Linked DNA regions of Homo sapiens: region 1 is linked to region 2. Evidence: promoter capture Hi-C in 16 types of primary human blood cells and fetal thymus (Javierre and others, 2016). All regions are on one chromosome and are shown on one strand. Each heading gives the region's core, a stretch centred on a gene start or on the middle of the fragment in contact. The rest is flanking DNA. Distances are from core to core; before and after follow the strand shown. Region 1 overlaps SLIT3 (slit guidance ligand 3). Region 2 holds the start of DOCK2 (dedicator of cytokinesis 2).

What was found. Contacts are between HindIII fragments. The CHiCAGO score rates a contact against its expected background, and 5 or more counts as called.
Region 1: a fragment that was not itself captured here is called in contact with the fragment with the promoter of DOCK2 in region 2 in 1 of 17 cell types (naive CD4 T cells); the score reaches 6.6 in naive CD4 T cells.

The regions. Positions count from the first base shown.
Region 1 is chr5:168,985,072-168,989,560 of GRCh38, reverse strand. The region is part of intron 4 of SLIT3 (slit guidance ligand 3); the gene reads left to right. Among named protein-coding and RNA genes, the nearest start is that of SLIT3-AS1, 26 kb to the left of the region's middle. The HindIII fragment of the contact is 1,854 bases long and covers 1,779-3,632 here.
Region 2 is chr5:169,634,315-169,638,904 of GRCh38, reverse strand. It overlaps DOCK2 (dedicator of cytokinesis 2), which reads right to left and starts at 1,630. Exons shown (of 52, transcript NM_004946.3): 1 at 1,536-1,630. The coding sequence starts at 1,578. RefSeq lists an enhancer at 833-932 and silencers at 1,193-1,252, 1,283-1,762. The HindIII fragment of the contact is 983 bases long and covers 1,035-2,017 here.

The DNA of each region.
Region 1 (4,489 bases), core at 1,456-3,955, 650 kb after region 2:
TTTCAGAATTACATTAGATGCAGAGATGTTAGCTGGAACTTGTCACCTCACATTCTCCCTCTGCTCGGGCTCTCCTCCTTACCCCAAAGAGCGAGACAAGTGTGGCAAATCCCACCTGAAAGTTTGCTGCAAGTCTCCTGCTGTGTTTTCAGCAAATTCATTTCAGGTGGCTGTGCCTAAGTTTGCAGCTCATCTTCTATTTTGTAGAAGAATCACTTGGGTGGTTCCTTCCTCTCATAGGTGCTTTCCTTCCCTGTCAAGTTTGTTTTGGAAACCAACTTTTTAAACTTTTTGTTACTAATAAGAATTTTGTTTTGTGGGAATTCCTAACCGAAAACAAAACAAAAGATCATTTCCTAAGGATGTATGCTTACCATATTCCGTCTTGTATGGATTTGCCTGCTTTTCATGTCTTTGCAAAAGAGGCATTCTTTCTGTTCTGTTCTGCAAGGCTCCTGTATTTGGTGTAGCTTTCTAATAAAATACTTGAATTCAGTGGTGTGTCTCTGAGGCAAATTAATTTAGTGCCATGGTTGAGACTGAAGATGTAAATGTCCAATAACATTGAGAGCAGGAGTTTGCTTTAGCAGGATTTGTTAATGAAAGTACATCCAGAAACTTTCACTTTCTGCAGTGAACAGTGAGGACAAATGCTGGCCTGGCTGAGATGGGGAGAGTGGTGTGCCAAGGAGATCCCAGGAGAGAGATGCTGATTCTTTTCTCTGGAGGCAAAACCCAGGAAGGCTTTCGAGGCTCAATTCTAGTGCTGCCTGCCCCTGGGGGGGGGTCTCCTAGTTGATTCTCCTCCAGTGTGCCAAAGTGAGATCCGTGAAGATTTTCCATCCAGGTGAAATTTAAATCCCACCCATTCACCCTTTTATATAACGTATGCATGTTAATTGCATCCCTAAGTATTTGGTTGGAAGTTTGCTTTAAGTTAGATCTCGCAGTCTTCCTGAGTTCTGCCCTGTTTTGCTATTTCCCAGAAGCTCTTTTGAGGGAACGTCCAGGAAGCCACACACCCTCCTTCTATACCCTGCAGCTCCAAGTGGTCGGGAGCCCTTGGAAAGAGCTGAGAGTTAGACTCAAGGATCTGGGTCCTTCCCTGCCAGCCCAGCCATGTGACCTGGGCAAGACCATTCTACTCTCCCCATCATGCAGGATCTGAGTGTTGTCTGTGTTCCCTTCCAAATATAAAATTATGGAATTGTAGGACTTTGGGAAATTGCATGTCCACAATTTCTTTTTCCATGGGAAAAAAAGGGAAACCATATCTATGGAGTTACAGTGGAGATGTAGCAGAGATGCCCTAGAGCGAGCAACCATCTGTGTTTGCCTAGCACGGAAGGATTTTCCAGGACACAGGGCTTCCCGTTTTAAAACCCAGAAAGTCTCAGACAAAATGGTCACCATAGGTGCACATATGGTCCATTCACCAGACTCCCTGACACCTTAATACAGGTGCAGGATGGCGAAGCCCAGCCTAGGGAGGTTTCTAAACCCCGCAGGCTTTCTGATGGAGTGTGGCTGAAAGAAAGGGGGAGACAGGTGCCAGCCACATTCCCTAGAAGAGAACACCTTAATGTGCAGTTGACTTGTTTGATCTGCTTCAGCTGTGACACAGTGGTCCCATGTGTACAGGTAGTGCACTCACAGAAAATGGAACCAGGGGCCTATGAGGATATTCAGTCCCCCCACCTACCTAACACCGAAAAAGAAGTCATCTATATATTCCATAAGAAATCATTTCGTTCTTTCCCGTTCTGGAAATAAAAGCTTCCTCCATAATGGGTGGGCTGCCACCTTGTGGCCATGAGTGGGAATGTGGGAAAGTACAGGTAACCACAGAGGACTAAATGCCTCTGGGTTTAAATCAATTCGGTTCCTATAGGGTACGAGGCAGTGAGCTAGATGCTTGTGTGGCTAAGACTATCATTATGTTACCAAGGGTAGAGCTTTACTGTGTGCATGTGATAAATACGCTTAGCAGTTTGCATGTAGTATCTCCTATAGTGTGCTTAACAACCCTGACAGGCAGGAATCATCACCATTTTACAGATGAGGAAACTGACACTCAGAGGTTAAGTACATTTTTAAGGTGACACAGCAAAGAGCTAGGATTTGAAACCAGGATTGGCTGGCCCTAAAGCTCATGGTCTGGACCACTAGGCTATACTGCTAGAGAGATTAGCGTGAATAGAAAAATAGGACCACATAGATAGTCTGGGTGGGAGAAATAGGTCATTGTGAATATGTGGGAGAGATTAACTTGGTGAACATAAAGGAAGAATGCAAAGCAGGGAGTGACTCTGACATCAAAAGCAGTGGAATCCAGAGTAAAGAGGGAGAGAGAACTAGAGTTGTCAGGATTCCAGGTTAAGGGGAAGGTGGGATTTGAAGTAGCTGTTGAAGGATGGATAGGAATCAGATCAACAGAGAGAGCTACAGCTTAGTGACCATTAATAAGCTGGCCAAGTCCGTGTTTGATAAATATTAGCCTTCTTTTATTTTTTGAGATGGAATCTCGCTCTGTTGCCCAGGCTGGAGTGCAGTGGCATGATCTCAGCTCACTGCAACCTCTGCCTCCCGGGTTCAAGCGATTCTCCTGCCTCAGCCTCCTGAGTACCTGGGATTAAAGGTGCGTGCCACCACGCCCGGCTAAATATTAGCCTTTGTAAACAATGTGTATATCATGAGTTAAACCCACACTAAAGGCTTTTTATATATGTATCTCATTAATGTGCAAAGGCCCTGCAAGGTCTTTGTTGTTATGACCCCCATTTTATAGGTGAGGAATCTAAGCAGTAGAGAGGTGGTCACTCACCCATGGTCACATTCATAATAAAGGAGTCACAATGTGAACCCACGTCCTTCTGACTCCAAGCCTGTGCTAAAACTGCTTGTGGTGGAGAAAACTCCCACTAGCACAGGAAGGGAGGGCCATGCTCACAGCATGCCTGGATGGTCCAGGTCATGCAAGTTATGATAAAGGAGAGAGCGTGCAGGGGTGGGATGGACGAGGACACTGAGAATGGAGATGGGGGCCTGGATGCTGATGTTTTCGCTGATAAATATGTTGAAGCCTCTCCCTGCAGCTACCAATGTACCAATGTGAGCTGAAAAGCATCATGGTACCCAAAGGGAGAGGAGGGCTATGGAGGCCATGTAAGAAGGGCGCCACCGTCCAAATATTTCCTTTCCCTTATCTACACCACTGGGAAGTGCGGTGCATGGCTCCTTCACAAACTGACCGATCTCAAGTGGGTTAATTCTCCCCTTTTGGCCTCCATTTCATCATCTATCATATAGGGATCGTGATTTTTGCCCTACGTCATGAAATTTGCCTACTTAGCATCTAGCACTGTCAGGGAATTGGGAGAACCAGACGTAAGAAAAGACATGAAAGAACTGAAAAGTATGAGGTATATTACATATTCTGATTTTGTAAACTGAATGCATATGCCTTTTGAGAAGACTCAGTGTCAGCCCCTTATAGAAGGCATTTCTTCGTGAGGCTGGACGTTTCATTTGAAAAGCCTTACTACATGATGAAGTGCCTTTCAGTCACAAGGTTTTAGGGAAAGCAAACCCAAGTTTAAAAAGAGATGATTGACTTATGGGTCTGAAAAGCTTGGGAGTGCGGCACTCCCAGGCATGATTTAACCAGGGGTTCAAATACAACCACCATACTCTGTCTCTGTATCTCTCTTCCTACCCCCCGCCATCATCCCTCCTTTCCTTCTCTTGTTTTTTCTGCATTGGCTCCATTTGCAGAGAGGAGCCCTCTCCTCACTGTAGCAAGACGGCCACCACAGCTGCAAACCTCACAGCCTCCCGGTTCAAGGTGAGTCTTTGTCCCTGCATTCCTGTGAGCACATCTGCTCCCATTGGCTACAGCATGGTCACGGGACAGAGAATGAGAAATGCTAATTGCCTTAGCCCAGACCACATGCTGCGCCCACCATGCATAGGAACTGAAATTAGGGAGGAGTGGACCTGCAAATAAAAATGAGGGCTGTTGCAGTAAAACACAGGGAAAGAAGTGCTGGGAAGGCAAGCAGTCAACCACTCAGTTGTTCCCATGCACCATGATTGCTTTTCTCCTTGGTTTGTCATCACCAGGACACAGACTCCCCTTGCCGGAAGCAAAGCCTTTGCATCTGGTTTGCTCCACGGCAGTTCAGAGATTGCTGAAGCCCAATCTCATATGACGATCCAAGATCTTAGGAAGTCCAGAAAAATGGGCAGGATAACCTTGGAAGCCAAGATGGCATATTCGTGGCTCAGTTCAGATGGTACAAGGAACTAGGTCCTGACTCCTGGGCTAGTTGTGGAAAAAGTTCAAGCGATCTTTAGGTTCAGTTTAATTCCCCACCCAGGAATTGAACTCTTCCTGCAAGGTGCAAAGCCCAGGGTGGCCACGGAAGGAACTCTGAACATCCCTGATCTTAGAGAATTCATGTCTAGTAGAGAACACAGTTGGGGGTCA
Region 2 (4,590 bases), core at 381-2,880:
TGGTGCCATGCAAAGGGCCTAGGGTCTGAAGACAATTGAATTTAAGGCCCGCTCCATTGCTTCCAAGTGATGTAAACTTGGTTACTTCACCTGTAAGTTGGGAATAATACACTGCCTCACATGGGGGTTCTGAAGTCAGACAGAGATTGCATGACCTTTGGTCTTGCAAACCATGAAATACTACAGTCTCATAAGGCATGACTGTCCTGAATCTGGCATTAGGGTGCATCTTGGTGCTGGTGTCTCTTGGTTCTGAAGCTGCTAGGTAAGACCCTGGACCTGAATCACTAACTCTTATTGAGCCAGCACACTACTAAATGCTTTCCATGCATAACCCCATTCAATCCTCACAAGAGTCTCATGAGACCTGCATTATTATTACTTCCACTTTATAGACGAGGAAACAGACCCTGATTTGAACTCAGTTCTGACTTCCCAGTCCAAGCCTCTAGCCTTACACATAACTCCTCAAGGGCAGAAGCTGTATCCTTCCTTACTTTGTAACTGCCCCTTGAGATATGAATTATTATTTGTTCTCTGGATGGGGACCATTTATATCAAAATGACCCCACAGTGCCCGGTACCCAGTAATTGAGTGGATAACTGCTGATCTCTCCAGGGCAGTGTTTCCCAAACAGTGGCCTGGGGACCCCCTGCATCAAATCCCTCTGGGTGTTTGGGTCTTCCAATGCCTCACCTGCGAAATATTTATCTCTGAGATGGTGTCTGGTATCCGCCTGTGTAGGAAGCTCCAGAGTGACTTTTTATTTGATATTTAAGTTTAAAAACCACAGTGAGTCCATGGAGATTGCACCACGGATGACACTTAGAGTAGCAGCACCTGAGGCCTCCCTTCCCCCAGCCACCACTTCCGCCCCTGAGCTCCAGGCAGAGGCTTCTGGGAGTTTAGATGGCTGAGGCTGACGAAGCTAGCTTCTTGGTTACCCTAAGACCACCTGGCGGGAGCCTTTTTCCCCAGAGGCTCTGGGGGGCTGAGTAGAGAACCCCACCGTCCAGCCCCATTCCCCCAAGCTTGAGCTGCCCTCTGGATGCCCTGCCAAATCAGGAGTCATCTGACCCAGGAGGAACAGACAGGGGAAGCAGGCAAATGGGTGTCGCTTTGGAGGGGGTGGAAGTATGCATGGTGGGCAGGCCAAGGCTGAGCCAGGGGAGAGTGGAGCTCCCTCTACAAGGCCAAGTCTCCCACGCGGCGAGCTGGGGCACTCCTGGGGACGCCGAGTTTGGCGCGAAGAACTGAGTTGTCAAGCGCAGGTCTTGACCCTATCTCGGAAATGTCTAAGGTTCCCTCAGCAGGCGAGAGGGCGAGGGCTGTGCTTAGCCTGCGGGGTGGGGTCCCGCCGTCCTCTCCCCGAGCCTCGGCTTTCCCGCCCCGAGGCCCCGCCGCAGGCTGCGCCCTCTGACCTGCAGGCAGCGCGCCCTGCCCACCCCGCGCCGCCGGCCCCGCAGCATCCTCCTGCTCGCGGCTCTCCCGCCACCTGTCCCGCTCCCTGCCGCGCCCTGGGGCCCGCACCTACCCACGCCGTGCCGCTCCTTGTCAGCTTTGCGCCAGGGGGCCATGGCTGGGCCGGGGCCTCGCGTCCTCCCGTGGGGAAGCCGTCAGGGGGTGGCTGGGCGCCGCAGGGCCCCACTTCCTTCCTCTTTTCAAACTCCTCTCAGGGCCCGCCCTCTCCTCCCTCGCCGGGGCTCCCCGCTCCCTCCTCCCTCCCGTTGGGCAGGGGCACACTAGAAGGCTGGTGCCCCGTAGGCTAAGACACGCCACCCCACCCCACTTCACGCAAAACTTGGGGACCACTCCCACTTTGTCTCCTCCCCAGGCGAGGGAGCAGAGGCCAGTCCCCACCTGGGGCTCGCCAGACCACCACCGCAAGTGCAGAGAGTTTCCTGATTGCCGTGCCTAGGGACTGAACAAACCTCCTTAACTCCCCTCAGCATGAGCTTTGGTGTCAGATCTCGGTTCGAATCCAGACGGGGACAAATGACTTCATTTTTCTAAGCTTCAGTTTTCTCATCTGTGAAATGGGATACTAATACCTACTTCATATGATTATTGTGAGGGTTAGAGAGACAATGTACACAGCAGGTGACATGGAAGAGTAAATGTTTACCTGGAGGTGGATCCTTTACAGCCTTTTTTTTTTTTTTTTGTGAGACGGAGTTTCGAGTTTCTCTCTTGCTGCCCAGGCTGGAGTGCAACGACGCGATCGCGGCTCACCGCGACCTCCGCCTCCCGAGTTCAAGCGACTCTCCTGTCTCAGCCTTCCCAGTAGCTGGGATTACAGGCATGCACCAGCATGCCCGGCTAACTTTGCATTTTCAGTAGAAACGTGGTTTCTCCATGTTGGTCATGCTGGTCTCGAACTCCCCACCTCAGGTGATCCGCCAGCCTCAGCCTCCCAAAGTGCTGGGATTACAGGTGTGAGCCACCGTGCCTGGCCCATTTACAGCTTTTTATCGTTTTGGTGCTACAAACCCGTTGGAAAATCTGATGTAAGCTCTAGAAGCTCTACTCTGAAAATACGTAAATACACTATTTACCAACATCACTGCAAGGTGAAGGGTGCTGTCACAGCCAGCAACAGTGGGACCCAGGAAAAGAGCCCTAGAGTTAGGCTAATGGAGACATTTCCTCGAAAAATCTCATTTTTGCTCTGAGAACAGATTCTGTCCAAAAAAAAAAAAAAAAAGTCTGATCCACAGTGATAAGGCTGAATTTAAGTTTTGCTGAGTTTTCTTTCTTTATTCATGACTCTCACTACCCCTTTCTGCCTTACACTGGAGAGTCATTAAGATAGATTAGGCAATATCACAGCTGAACTGGAGCAACAAAAAATTATTGATTTTGTTTTATCTGCAGTTATTTTCTTTTCTGTTTTCTAGCAGCACAAATTAGGTAATAATGTCTTATACAGTCAGCAGTGGTATTAGGGTTCCACCAGATGACCAGAGTAGGAGATTTTATATATATGCATACATATATATACATACATACATATATGCATATATATATACACATACATACATACATATATGCATATATATACACATACATATATGCATATATATACACATACATATATGCATATATATATACACATACATATATGCATATATATATATATATATATACACATACATATATATGTATATGAGAGACAGAGAGAGATTGGGGATTGGCTAATGCGATTGTGGGGCTGTCAGGAAGAGCAGTTTGGAAACTCACAGGCAGATGTCCTCAGGAGGAATTTCTTCTTTTTCAAGGAACCTCAGTTCTATTCATAAGGTTTGTCAACTAATTGGATCACACCAACCAAATGTATTGAGGATAATCTCCCTTAATTAAATTCAATGTATGGTAGATGTTAATCACATCTACAAAGTACTTCACAGCAACCCCTGTGAAGATTGTGAAGATTGGTATTTGATTGAATAACTGGGCCATAGCCTTGCCAAGTTGACTCACAAAACTAGCTATCACAACAATGTTATAAATTGGGACTATACAATAGAGGATGCCAAACATTTTCTGTAAAGTCACAGATAGTATTTTAGTCTTTGCAGTCCAGAAAGCAAAATCAAGTATATATGTAGGATGCAGGTACTTATGTAAAGAAAGAAAAAAGGTTCTAAATTTTTTTTATTAATAAAATTCAAAATATCATGTGAATGAGTATTTTTTGTAATACTAGCTTAGTAAGGCAAAAAAAAATACATTTTGGGAATGATATCACATTTCACCTTATTGGAGTTCAAAGTTAATGTGCCTTATCGAAATTGATTCAAATATTCATATGTTAATGCTGATCTGACAGGATATTTACTTTCTATTTCTGAAAAAAATGTTTACCAAATGGGCAATGGTTAAAAGTCCAGAAAAGCTAATAAAATTAACCTTTGATACCACTGATTCAATAACATCACAGATTTAGATATTTTCCACAAAGTACCTGATGGTGAATATTACAATTAATAATCATAAGCTTTAAATATCTTATATTTTCACCCACCTTCTAAATTTGCTCCAAAAGCCTTCTTCTGCTCCACAGATATTTTTTTTACCATGAACACTAGCAACACATCTTAGCAGATTCCACTTCAGGTTGTGTTGAATTAGTGTTTTCTCATTTTCTTTTAAAGTAATCTTGCCTATAGTTCTTCTACACAGGCTCTTCATAGAAGCTATTTCTTCATTCACTTCGAACTCAGCATTGACTTCTCAAATAAACAACAACTGAGCTGTATTGGTAATATTTGTCAACAAGAACTAAGGAAAACCACTAGAAGTCATTTTAAAATTCACTATTGATGCTTCTGTCAATGTTCTCAACCAAGCAACCAGTGTCACCAAAAGGCTAAAAGTCTTAAACTAATTTATTTTCACTGGATATATTTCATCTGCTGCTATAATCAAACATGATTTAATGAACTTAACATCAATAAAATATTTTGCCTTGCTTGCATAACAAATAAGCCACTTGGAAACTTATTCTGGTTGTAGTCTCATTTTCACTTTTTATTATTTTAAAGAAATTGTGCTGTGATGAGATATTCTGTTTTAAATTTTCTAATTTT